2 separate regions of the Homo sapiens genome follow, and region 2 is linked to region 1. Evidence: promoter capture Hi-C in human tissues and cell types (Jung and others, 2019). All regions are on one chromosome and are shown on one strand. The core of a region is centred on a gene start or on the middle of the fragment in contact, and the rest is flanking DNA. Distances in the headings are between cores, read along the strand shown. Region 1 holds the start of AOAH (acyloxyacyl hydrolase). Region 2 holds the start of GPR141 (G protein-coupled receptor 141).

The links. Contacts are between HindIII fragments. The study calls those that stand out against the background at their distance.
Region 2: a contact is called between the fragment with the promoter of GPR141 here and the fragment with the promoter of AOAH in region 1, in 1 of the 25 tissues and cell types used here (hippocampus).

What each region holds. Positions count from the first base shown.
Region 1 is chr7:36,723,244-36,728,688 of GRCh38, forward strand. AOAH (acyloxyacyl hydrolase) reads right to left here and starts at 1,251. Exons shown (of 21, transcript NM_001637.4): 1 at 779-1,251. The coding sequence starts at 905. The HindIII fragment of the contact is 16,117 bases long and covers 1-5,445 here.
Region 2 is chr7:37,679,776-37,686,024 of GRCh38, forward strand. GPR141 (G protein-coupled receptor 141) reads left to right here and starts at 3,991. Exons shown (of 3, transcript NM_001381946.1): 1 at 3,991-4,128; 2 at 5,685-5,808. RefSeq lists an enhancer at 1,994-2,053. The HindIII fragment of the contact is 6,620 bases long and covers 1-6,075 here.

The DNA of each region.
Region 1 (5,445 bases), core at 1-2,500:
CATCTAAATGCCACCACTATTATGAGAATTCCCATGTTATGAGAGCTACAATGTGAATATCAAAGATCTTACCTTACTTCCTGCTCTCATCCAAAAAAAACAAACAAAAAAAACCTCTTGGAAATAAAACACTTCATTAACAGATGAGCCAAGAAGCCATATCAACGCTCAGCGTCTCCAGGTGATCGCCAAATCTGGATTCTCTGAGAGACGGAAGGAAGCTAAGATGGTTGAGTCCTTACTGTGTGCACATGCCACAGATTTACATGCATGGTCACAATTTCCATGGTATCCCTATGAGATGGGTCTCACTCACTTCAGTTCACCAATAAGGACACAGAAGCATGGAGAGGGTTAAGTACATTGCTCCAGGTTTCCACAGCCAGTAGGAAATGGGAGAGAAGGGTAGGAGGAGGGCAGTGATTCAAACTCAGATGTGTTTATATGAGGTCAAAGCCCATGAAAAGCAGTAAAAATTTCAGACTAAAATAGCCTGAAATAATAGTTACCTATACAAGAAGAAAAAATTCCAATCGCCAATGAGGTGGAAGAGTTTTATGCCCAATTTAAACTAGTATGCTTTTTATTCACATAGATGTATGTAGTGTCAATGTCTACTCTTAGACTCCACATTTCTCTGTGTCAGTGAGGTTACTGGTGCCTTACCTGGAATCTTACAATTCTTGATTTAATAAAATATGTGATTTATTACGCAAGCAAAGTACTGGATCCCATTGTTATGTCTACATAGAAAATACAAAAATATTTATTTGCATACCTACACAGGTGTGCCCATTCGAGAGGCTGGGCCTGGACTGGTCATCGTTGGCTGGAGAGGCCGAGGACTGAAGAGACAGGAGCAAGAATAGAGGCGCCACCGTAAGGATTTTCCAGGGGGACTGCATCTCCGAGCTATGCACCCCAAGTGATCACCCGGCTTTGGAAGCTCCCAACTGAGGGATGCTGGAGCTGAGGCTGCAGAATCAATTGATCTCTCTCTCCTTCTCTTCCTCACTCTCTTTGACACACACACCCCACCCTCTCACATACACACTTTTCAATAAGTGTGAAGTGAATAAAAGCACACATAAACACTCACAGACCCACAGCTTGCTCTTGTTGGACCCTGAGAGAGCCACACACAAAGAGCTGGAGGGAGTCTGTGGTGTGCGGTTCTGCTGAGGTAAAGACTGCAGGATAAAGAAAACCCAAGTTGCACAGTGGCACAACTTCCGTGCTCCCTGGCTCAGTGAAGTTAGTGTGCATAAACCCCGTGAGCCTCGAGGCTTGCCGGAACTGATCTGTTGGGTTGGTTAGGAGGCCCTTCCCCTTTCATTCTTGCAAAACAAAACAAAACGATACTAAAGCCAAAACTGAGAAGAAAAAAGAAAAAAAAAACTAATCCACAAGCACACAACCCTTTAACAATTTGATCAGCAGCACCCACATATTGTAGAAATTCTAATTGGTTACATTCAGAACTTACTTAGTCTTGTTTTCAACAGCTTTATATGGTAAGGTTGTGATCCTTATTTTGTTGTAAAAGGATATTCTGGTCAAATAATATCTTTCCTCTGGAGAAATTGGGTTATTCCTTGAAGGGTCAAGGCCTTTTATTTGGTGTGCAGAAAATAAACAGTACAGAAAATAATGGGCAGTTAGCATGGTGGGATTTTAGACCTAATGAGAAAAAACATGGGTTAGAATTAATCAATTCACAGTTGCTAGGCTGTGCACAATGCATCTTTTTTTTCTCCAGAATTTCGAAGTGCATTTTGTGGATGATTTGTTAAGAGACTGATTTTCTGCTCTGAAGAATAGAACTGAACACTGTCTTTCTGAGGGAAAAAAAAAATCGGAACCAGATCATAGATAAAAGACATATAATCTAAATGTTTCTCTCTAAAATAAGATAAAACAAAATCATATGCCATTCTCAGTCAAGATAAGAGGACAGGGCCAAAGTACCACAGTCTAGGTAAGTGTAGGAGGTCATGAGATTCTGTTTCTCTCTGCTTAGGCTCTGAGGGAGCTTATTACAAATTTTGAAATATTATAGAAGCTATCTAAATTGTTAGCAATTAAAAAAAATAGCATTTGGAGTAGCAGGCAAAGTTTTAGAGTAGCATCCTTTCCAGGATGTAGGAAATACCAGTTTTTATGGTTGGAAGATTTCTTGTGCAGTCATTAGTCTTACAAGCACCGATGGGGCTACAATTCCCAAACCTGCTGCAGAGATAGCACAAGTCAGAGTGTTTCCCTAATTACACTTCCAGCCCAATACTGAGGATATCGTTAGGCGTCCATGGGCCTGTGACTTCCTCTGACTCTAAGGTGCTGCTGCTTCAGTTCTTCACTCTGTGACTAAGGGGAGCTCTGGGGTCACTAGGACCACCACAGGGGTGAGGCCTAGAGAAGTTCCAGAGACTTCCAAGGGAGGCTAAATAAAGGACTGATTGATTAGGAACTCAGATTGTGAAGACAGAAAGGCTCATGCTTACGTCTCATGTCTACTGTTTATTCTGAGTAATATATTAGACCAGTGATGTAACTTTCCCCCCTTCAGTGTCTTGTTTTTGTTGTTGTTGTTGTTGTTTGTTTGTTTTTTGAGACAGGGCCTTGCTTTTTCATCCAGGCTGGAGTGCAGTGGTGTGATCACAGCTCACTGCAGTGTTGACCTCCTGGGTTCAAGTGATCTTCCCACCTCAGCCTCCCAAGTAGCTCATTTCTATTGGGATAATGGTAATATCCGCTCCAATGCGCTGCTGGAAGCACTCGAATACATGATGTATCCAAACAACAAAGCAGCATGGCTGGCAAGAAGTAAGTGCTTAGTGCATCTGTCTATGACTCTAGCAGGAGTGTGATGAAACCTGCACCCCAGACCAGCTTCAAGAGAATTCCAAGACGCCCATGGTAGTTGTAGGCCATCATGTCATACATGGGAAATGGTGAGGACAGGAAAAGGGAGGATTTATTGAATACCTTCCAGCTGTGCTACAGCACTCCAGGAGTGTGTGGTCTAGTTTGTCTAATCCATAAATGGGTGAGGACTCTCCTGAGGGCTTCTGGAAGAGCATTTGACACAGGCTTTGGGCCTCTTGAGGCTCTCCTGGTCTCAATGTATAGCTGCGAGCAGGTCTGGAAACTCTTAGAGTGAGAGGGATTTCTTGGTATGCCGGAAATGCAAGTTTTGTGCCCTTCATCGCATGTATGTGGGCCAGGCAGTGCCATTCACAACCATCCCAGGGATGGTCGGCTCTGAAACTCTCTAGTGTGCTCAGGCTTCGGGGCTGGTCACAGTGGGAGTCGCTGACTTAGCTGTGCAGTATTGAGCAAGCCCCTTCCTGTTTCCAGAGGTGACAGTCCTCAGCTAGAAAAGGGAGGTGAGACTATCTACTTCGTAGGAATATATCATGGTAAAACCTGACACATAGGTTTTCAGTAATGGAAGGATTTTTCATGCTTGGAGGGTGAGTTCTTACTGGGCATGATCAAAGGAAGAATGCAGAAATCAGAAAGTGATTTCGCCAGCAGAAGCTGGAACAAAGTGCACGTGTGCACAGACCACTGAACAAAACATCCCTCTCCGTCACCAGGATGGAGTGGACCCTCCCATTTGCACAGTTGTCCTTCACACTGGCTGGTATCATTGCCCCTGACAGGGCTGCCTTTGCTCATCAAGTACTGAGTGCAAATGACTTGGGATCTTTGCACAGCTTGCCAAAAGGCCCTGGACCTACCTGTGGTTTAGAACAACTAGTCAGGCCCTGGAGAATGTTCCTGCAGGACCCCACTGTCAGATGTTCCAATTTTGAATCATCTCGAAATCTGCTCTTGAAAATGAGATTTCTTCCCTGAAGCACTTTGTTACTGATTTCACTCAAACAGCTCTGATTCAAACCACTGCTTTCCCCTGTGCCATGGAAGGCTAAGGCTTTGTGATCCCCAAGTGTTGCACCTGTGGTCTGCTTGTTCAGTATGAATATGCTTCCTGAATATTTTTTGACCACATTGGCCTCAACCACCTCATCCACAGCAAGTTCCTTAATCAGAAAAAAAAAAAAAAAAAAAAGAGGTGGGTGATGGGAGATCCTGTAAAAGCTGGCACTGTCACCAACACGTGTCTCGTCTTAGACTTTCTCCTCTCTCTAAGGCCCAGGTCCATGCTGCCCTGTTACTCCTGGCTGCCCAGGACTGTGTACAGCAGTCCTCAGTTCCCATCTACCAAAACCAGGCCCTCTGCTGCTCCCCTCCTCCTCAGTCAGAGCTTATTAACGCTAGCCTCATTCTATTCTGTTCTGCTGTCTGCTAAGGACAGGGTAAATTAACCCATGCTGAGGATGCATGGGGGCTCATTAAAAGAGCTCTGGGCTAGGATGGGGGGCCTGTGTCATGGGCTCCCCTCCTAGTAGCTGTGTGCCCTGGGTAAGCTGCTCCACCTTTCAGAATACCAGTTTATTTTACTATAGAATAGGGCATATAATGTCAATATTTAAGAAAATTGTGAGAATTAGAGAGACAACATGAATTTAAAAACATAATATTAACTGTTAGATGAATGTGAAGCTGACAATGAATTCACATTATTCTTCTCAAGTAGCATTGAAATTTTGGGGGAAGTTTTTTAAATCAAGATTTTAAAAATTGCTACATAATAACTGTACATATTTCTGGTGTACATGTGACATTTCAATACGTGCATGCAATGTGTAATGATCAAATTAGGGTAATTAGGATATCCGTCATCTCAAATATGTATCATTTCTTTGTCTTGGAAACATTTAAAATTCTCTTTTCCAGCTATTTTGAAATATACAATGAATTGTTGTTAACCAAAGTCACCCTACTGTGCTATTCAACACCAGGACTTATTCCATCTAACTGTATTTCTGTAGCCATTAATCAATCTCTCTTTATTCACCCTTTCCCACCCTTCCAAGTCTCTGGTATCTATCGTTCTATTCTCTACCTCCTTGAGATCACCTTCTTTAGTTTCCACAAGTGAGTGAGAACATGCAGTATTTGTCTTGCTGTGCCTGGCTTATTTCACTTAACATAATAACCTCCAGTTTCATCCATGTCGATGCAAATGACAGGATTTCATTCTTCTTAATGGCCAGATGGTATTCCATTGTGTACATGTACCACATTTTCTTTATCCATTTATCTGTTGATGGACACTTAAGTTGATTTCATACCTTGACTGCTGTGGCTAGTGCTGCAATAAACATGGGTTTATACTACAAAGTATGTCAGTATACCTTTCCAACATACTGATTTTCTTTTGAATACATAACCAGCAGTGGGATTGATAGATTATATATTAGATCTATTTTTAGTTGTTTGAGGAAGCTCCATACTGTTTTCTATAGTGGGCTGTACCATTTATAATCCCACCAACAGTGTGCTAGTAGTGCCCTTTCAAAGCATCCTTACCAGCAT
Region 2 (6,249 bases), core at 2,741-5,240, 960 kb after region 1:
CTGTACTTTTTGGCATTTTTTTGGATAATATTTCTTCATTCCATTTTTTCCTGTTTTATCTTGCTAATTTTGTTGTTATTTTTTAGTCACTATTCCAAAGATGATGGTGAGCATTCTTGATTGATTAAAGTCTAATGTTAATTAGTACTTTTACCACCTTCAAGAAGATGCAAAGATTTTAGAACACTTGAATTCAATTTATATCTCTCCATGCTTTATCCCATTATTGTCAGGAATTTTGACTCTACCTATATTTCAAATCCTGTTAGGTGATTACTATTGTTATTGTAAATCTTTGATATGTACATAGGTTTACCCACACATTTGCTCTTTCTATTGCTCTTGGTTTCTTTGTGCAGTTCTGGCTCTCACCTGGGATTGCCTTTGCACTTTTGGAATCACTCCTTTTAGCATTTCCCTTAGTTCATGTTGGTGGGTTACAAATCATCATAGTTTCAGTTTGTCTGAAAATATTATTGTGTCATCAAGATGATGGATATTTTTATTGCATAAAGAACTCTAAATTAGCAGTTATTTTCTTTTACAATTTTGAAGATGTTGTTCCATTTCCTTTGGGTTCCATTGCTGTTGTTGAAAAGGCTGTCTTCAATCTTATTGTTGCACACTTAAAAGTTTTTGCCTCCGAACAGATTTTAAGTTTTGTTTTTGTTTTTTCTTTAGAGATGGAGGTCTCACTATGTTGCTTAGGCTGGTCTCAAACTCCTGGCTGAAAGCAATCCTATCATCTCAGCTTCTCGTGTAACATAATTTTAAAATTTCTTTCTTCATTTTTTTATTTCATATATTGGACCTTGGTAGAGTTTTTGTTGTTGTTTCTATTCTCTTTGGGATTCATAGTGCTTCTTGAGTCTATGTCTTTTTTTATTATGATTTTTTAAAAAATGTATTGCCCTTTAAAATATCGTTTCTTCCAAATTCTTCCTCTTGTTTCTTTCCAGAGCAACATTATAGGCATGTTAAAACTTTGCCCTATGTCTTTCATGACTTTTGTGTGATTTTATATAATTTTTATCTTTTTTTTGTTGCCATTATTCAATCTGGTATTTCTTTTTTTTCTTTTTCTTTTTTTTTTGAGACTGAGTTTTGCGCTTGTCACCCAGGCTGGAGTGCAATGGTGTGATCTTAGCTCATTGCAACCTCTACCTCCTGGGATCAAGCGATTCTCCTGCCTTGGCCTCCCTGGTAGCTGGGATTACAGGCACCCACCACTATGTCCAGCTAATTTTTGTATTTTTAGTAAAGACAGGGTTTCACCATGTTGGCCAGGCTGGTCTTGAACTCCTGACCTCAGGTGATCCACCTGCCTTGGCCTCCCAAAGTGCTGGGATTACAGGTGTGAGCCACCATGCCCAGCCCAATCTGCTACTTTCTACTGACCTATATTTCAATTCCATCATCCTCTGTGTCTAATCTTCTATTAGTCTTCATCAGTTAAGTAACTTTAGTTGTTTTATTTTTCAGTTTCAGAATTTCTATTTTATTAAAAAAATTCTCTAGTGTAAATTTTCTATATTTTGTGTACTCTCTTCAAACATTGATTACAGCTATTTTAAAACCAATCAATTCTGAATGCCCTTGTGCATTTGTTTCTATTTTCTGTTTATTTTCATGGTCTGTTTTTCTAGACTTATCTTCAGACATGGCTTTTAATAGTTATTGAAATTTGGACATTGTGTTTAAAAAGTTTGAGAGTCAATTCATTGATCTGGTTAGTGTTATCGTCCTCCAGAGAGTATTTACTTTTGCTTGATGTGTGTGAGGAGGTCGTTATGACGATGGCAAATCTCCTATCTATTCAGTGATTGTCTACCTAATTCAGCAATTTAGGTGATTTGAAATTGGGCTCCCACTTTGTGATGGTACAATATTTTTAGCACATGCTGTCTCCTAGGGTGTAGCCCTTCAGGGGTCCTAACTGAAAATTTGAGGTAATTATAAGGGCACCACCTCCTTGGTGGTCTCTGTTTGCTTCTTAAACTAGATTTCCTTAACTTCTGAGCATCTTAGCCACTGTATTTCACCTGTTTCTTCACCTCTCAGTGTCCAGTTTCAAATCAGCAGTGCCTTGAGTAAAAAGTACTCAGGAGTTGAAAATCAGATTCACTGATTTGTACTTCCTGTCTTCTGGGGATTTTATTTCTTCAAGGTGTCATTGCCTGGGCAGCTTTCTGAAGCCTTCAAACTTATAGGTTTTGCATTCTGTTCATTTTTGTAAGCTGCTCTCAGCAGGAGGGTTTGTCAGCAACAATCTTCTCTACAACTAATAAAGCTTGAAATATCTCTAGCATGAGTTATTTTGAAGCAGATAGCATTTTAACTCATATGGCAGAAAGAACGCACATCTGCTGAAATTGAAGAGTTTCCTGATGCAGAGGCCTTCTCTTCAAACTAAGAAACAAAGTTGGAAGCACTTAGAACATTATGTTTGGAGTAAGAAATGTGAATACTGATGAAAACAGAACTGCAAAAATTTCGCCTAAAATAATGAGTGTTTTAGCACTGTAAAGAATACCAGGAATCACCCCAAATTACCAAAGTTATCATTCTACTTAGGGACCTTAAAATAGAAAGAACCCAGGGCCAGTATCATTTTGATGCCTTTTAAAATTTCTTTTTGAAATAGTGAAATGTCACAATGGATTTTAAAAATAGGGGAATGTTGAAAATGTTGATATTTAATAAATTAGTACTTTTTAATTGACCAATTTCTATATAATATTAACATGCTGTCTACATCAGGAGTTCTCAACCCCTGGGCCACAGACCAGCAGTGGTTCGTGGCCTGTTAGGAACTGGGCTGTACAGAAGGAGCGGAGCAGTGCACGAGTGGGCCAGCAAAGTTTCGTCTATATTTACAGCTGCTCCCCATCACTTGCATTACTGCCTGAGCTCCACCTCCTGTTAGATCAGCAGCGGCATTAGATTCTCATGGGAGCATGAACCTTATTGTTGAATTGTCCATGCTAGGGATCTAGGTTGCAGTGTTCCTTATGAGAATCTAATGTCTGATGATCTATCATTGTCTTCCATCACCCCCAAATGGGACCATCTAGTTGCAGAAAAACAACCTCAGGGCTTCCACTGATTCTACATTATGATGAGTTGTATAATTATTTCATTATATATTATCATGTAATAACAATTGAAATAAAGTGCGCAATAAATGTAATGTGCTTGAATCATCCAGAAAACATCCCCACCCCTGTCTGTGGAAAAATTGTCTTCCATGAAACCTTTCCCTGGTGCCAAAAAAGGTTGGGGACCACCGATTTACATAATTAGAAAGTTTATAAAATCCTAATTTATAGAGTGGTCATCAAATGGTAGGAAAGTTCAAGCAGTTTGAGGAACTGATGTTTTTTTTTCTCAATACTTGCAGTGCATCTCTATGACTGTATGGGCAGCTTCTTCTGGAGATAATGTTGACAGTCTAAAAAGTTAAGCTGTGACGATTTACTCCCCTCCCCTGCCCCTATAGCACACTCTGATTTTAAATATTTTCTCTCTTAATTCTAATTAAATGACATAATTATAGTGCCATATCCCAGTCAATGCCATTTATCAGTGACAGCTAATTAACACAATTATAAAAGTGGGAGCCCTAAGTTACCAGTGAGGTATAGAGCAACTCTGGAAATTTTCTCCTTACTGAAAGGAAATATTACACATATTCCTTCACCAGAAGAACAATACACAGTTTACCTTCCCTTTTTGTTTTTGATAATACCACTTTGTTCCCCATTCTCTACAAAATTTAGTTTGAAGAACATTTTAAAAACTTGATTCATCGTAGTCATCAATCCTTCATAAATATTTCTTGACAATTGGCCTCTCTGTAGTTTGCAACCTGGACTACTCATGTTTAAGAGCTTGGTTTTTCAAGACTATTGTGTTTCAAATGGTTTTGAGGTTTTATGGTCTGTTGACATTCTGAGGAACTTAGAACACATTCACTTCCTTTTGCTTGGTGAGCTGTCCAGAGCCTTTGCAAATGCATGCAGAGCATGGAAATGACCCAGCTGCCCTGCTGTTGAAACAGAATCCTATTTGGAAGGCAGACATGTGGCCCATCTCTGTAGCCATCACTGAGAAATCTGGATTTTCAAGGTAAGTGCAGATGACTTAGGTTTGGGGAGACATGAATGAAAGTGCTATAGAAATAAAGCACACTTAATTTGTTGGCATAGTCCTAATTCAGAATCTTCAAATGGTTCTGCTCTAAAAAGCAAGCTTATTCTCTGACCACAACTCCTCCTTTATAGAAAGAATTGTTCTATTCTTACTGCTTAGGATATGCTGCTCTGAAAGTAAAACCTAATATTTATGGGTAAATGTGAACAAAAATGATTTCAGAATCTCTCTGTCAAAAAACCAGCTAAACATATCATAGAATTTTTTAGAGCAGTTGGCACTATTGAATTTGTGTATAATTATTCAAATGCTTATCTTTTAAGTGATGTCTTAATTTCCTTTTGTTATGAAAATCCTTTAACTCTATTACTGCATTATTTTCAGATAGAGTTTGAAACTATTCAGGCAGCCCTAGTCAATAGAAGGAAACAATCTGTAAGCAATCAAGTACTTAGAAATTTCTAAAAGAAGTATATTCAAAATAACATGTGAAATAATGGTAATTATAATTCTTTCCATCCCACTTTTAAAGTACTACTTAACAGGAAGGATCTGAAAATAACTTCTTAAATAAGATAAATAAAAAGAACAACATCTGTTCAAATAATTTTACTTTAAGTAAAATACTTTCTATACCAGTATTTTCTACTTCCAAGAAGTAATATTTTTCAAATATGTGGAATGAAATATAATGCAAAGTTTTTAAACAATAAGTCAGTAATGCCTAACCTGAATATAGGCATTTAATTTTGTTTCTTTTACAAATTTGTTATATGACTTTTGATAGGTCACTTAATTCTCTGGACTTCAGCGTTCTACATAACTGCACAATTACTTATCTGAGAAATTACTTATTAAGTACTCCAGAATTACATGTCTTTGTTTTCTGTTTTATTGGGTTTAAATCAGTTAATTAGGATTTTAATCAGTCAATAGAAGTAATGGGAAGACCAATGGATGAGGAATCAGGTGGTGTGAATTCTAGTCCTCTGTTTTCTAGTAATTGGCTGCATAATTTGGGGGAATATTGTCTAAGGATTCCAGACCAGGGGTTGGCAAACTTTTTCTACAAAAGCCTTGATAGTAAATATTTTAGGCTTTGCAAGCCAAGAGGTAGAACTGAGGCTAATATATTGGTACTTACATAACCATTTAAAACTATAAAAACCATTCGTAGCTCACAGGCTGTATAAAAACAAGAAGTGAGCCAGCTTTGGCTTAGGTGACACAATTTTCCAACTATTCTTCTAGCAATGATTTTCAACAATTATAAAATGGAAGTTGTAGACTGGATAAGAGATGCTCAGCTAAGGGAGTTCCTGGATGGTCTTTAGATTGATACACCAATCCTCTGAAATTGCATGCAAAAATGTAAGTGTGTGTTTTTCTTTTCTTCCTTTTGTGCGTGTGTGTGTTTCTCTCCCTCCCTCCTTCCTTCCTGCCTGCCTGCCTGCCTGCCTGCCTGCCTTCCTGCCTTCTTCCCTCCCTCCCTCCCTCCATCTCTCTCTCTCTTTCTCTCTTTCTTTCTTCAGGGCCTTTCTCTCTGTTGCCCAGGCTGGAGTTTAGCGACTCAATCATGGCTCACTGACTGCAGCATCGACCTCCGGGGCTCAAGTGATCCTTTCATCTCAGCCTCCTCAGTAGCTGAGACTACAGGTACTTGCCACCACACCTGGCTAATTAATTAATTTTTTTTTTTAAATAGAGACAGGGTCTTGCTCATGTTGCCCAGGTTAGTCTCAAACTCCTGGGCACAAGTGATCCTCCTGCCTTGGCTTTTCAGAGTACTGGGATAACAAACATGAGCCACTGTGCCTGGCAGCACTTTTTTTTTTTTTTTTTTTTTTTTAAATAAGAAAAACACGGATTGATTTTCAAAGTGGTCCAAAATCCAATTGTAGTTAAGGACCACAGGTCTAGCTAATTTCTAAAAGTGCTTTCCAAATTTAAAATCAATGAGCCTGTGAAATGTTTACTGGTGTCTACTATGGGTAAGCCATTGTGCTAGCACTATAAGAGACGTAGCATGTTGTGACTAAAATAATGTGTTAAATATATTGTTAAATAATATGTTAAAAAATATATTTTTGGGACAGG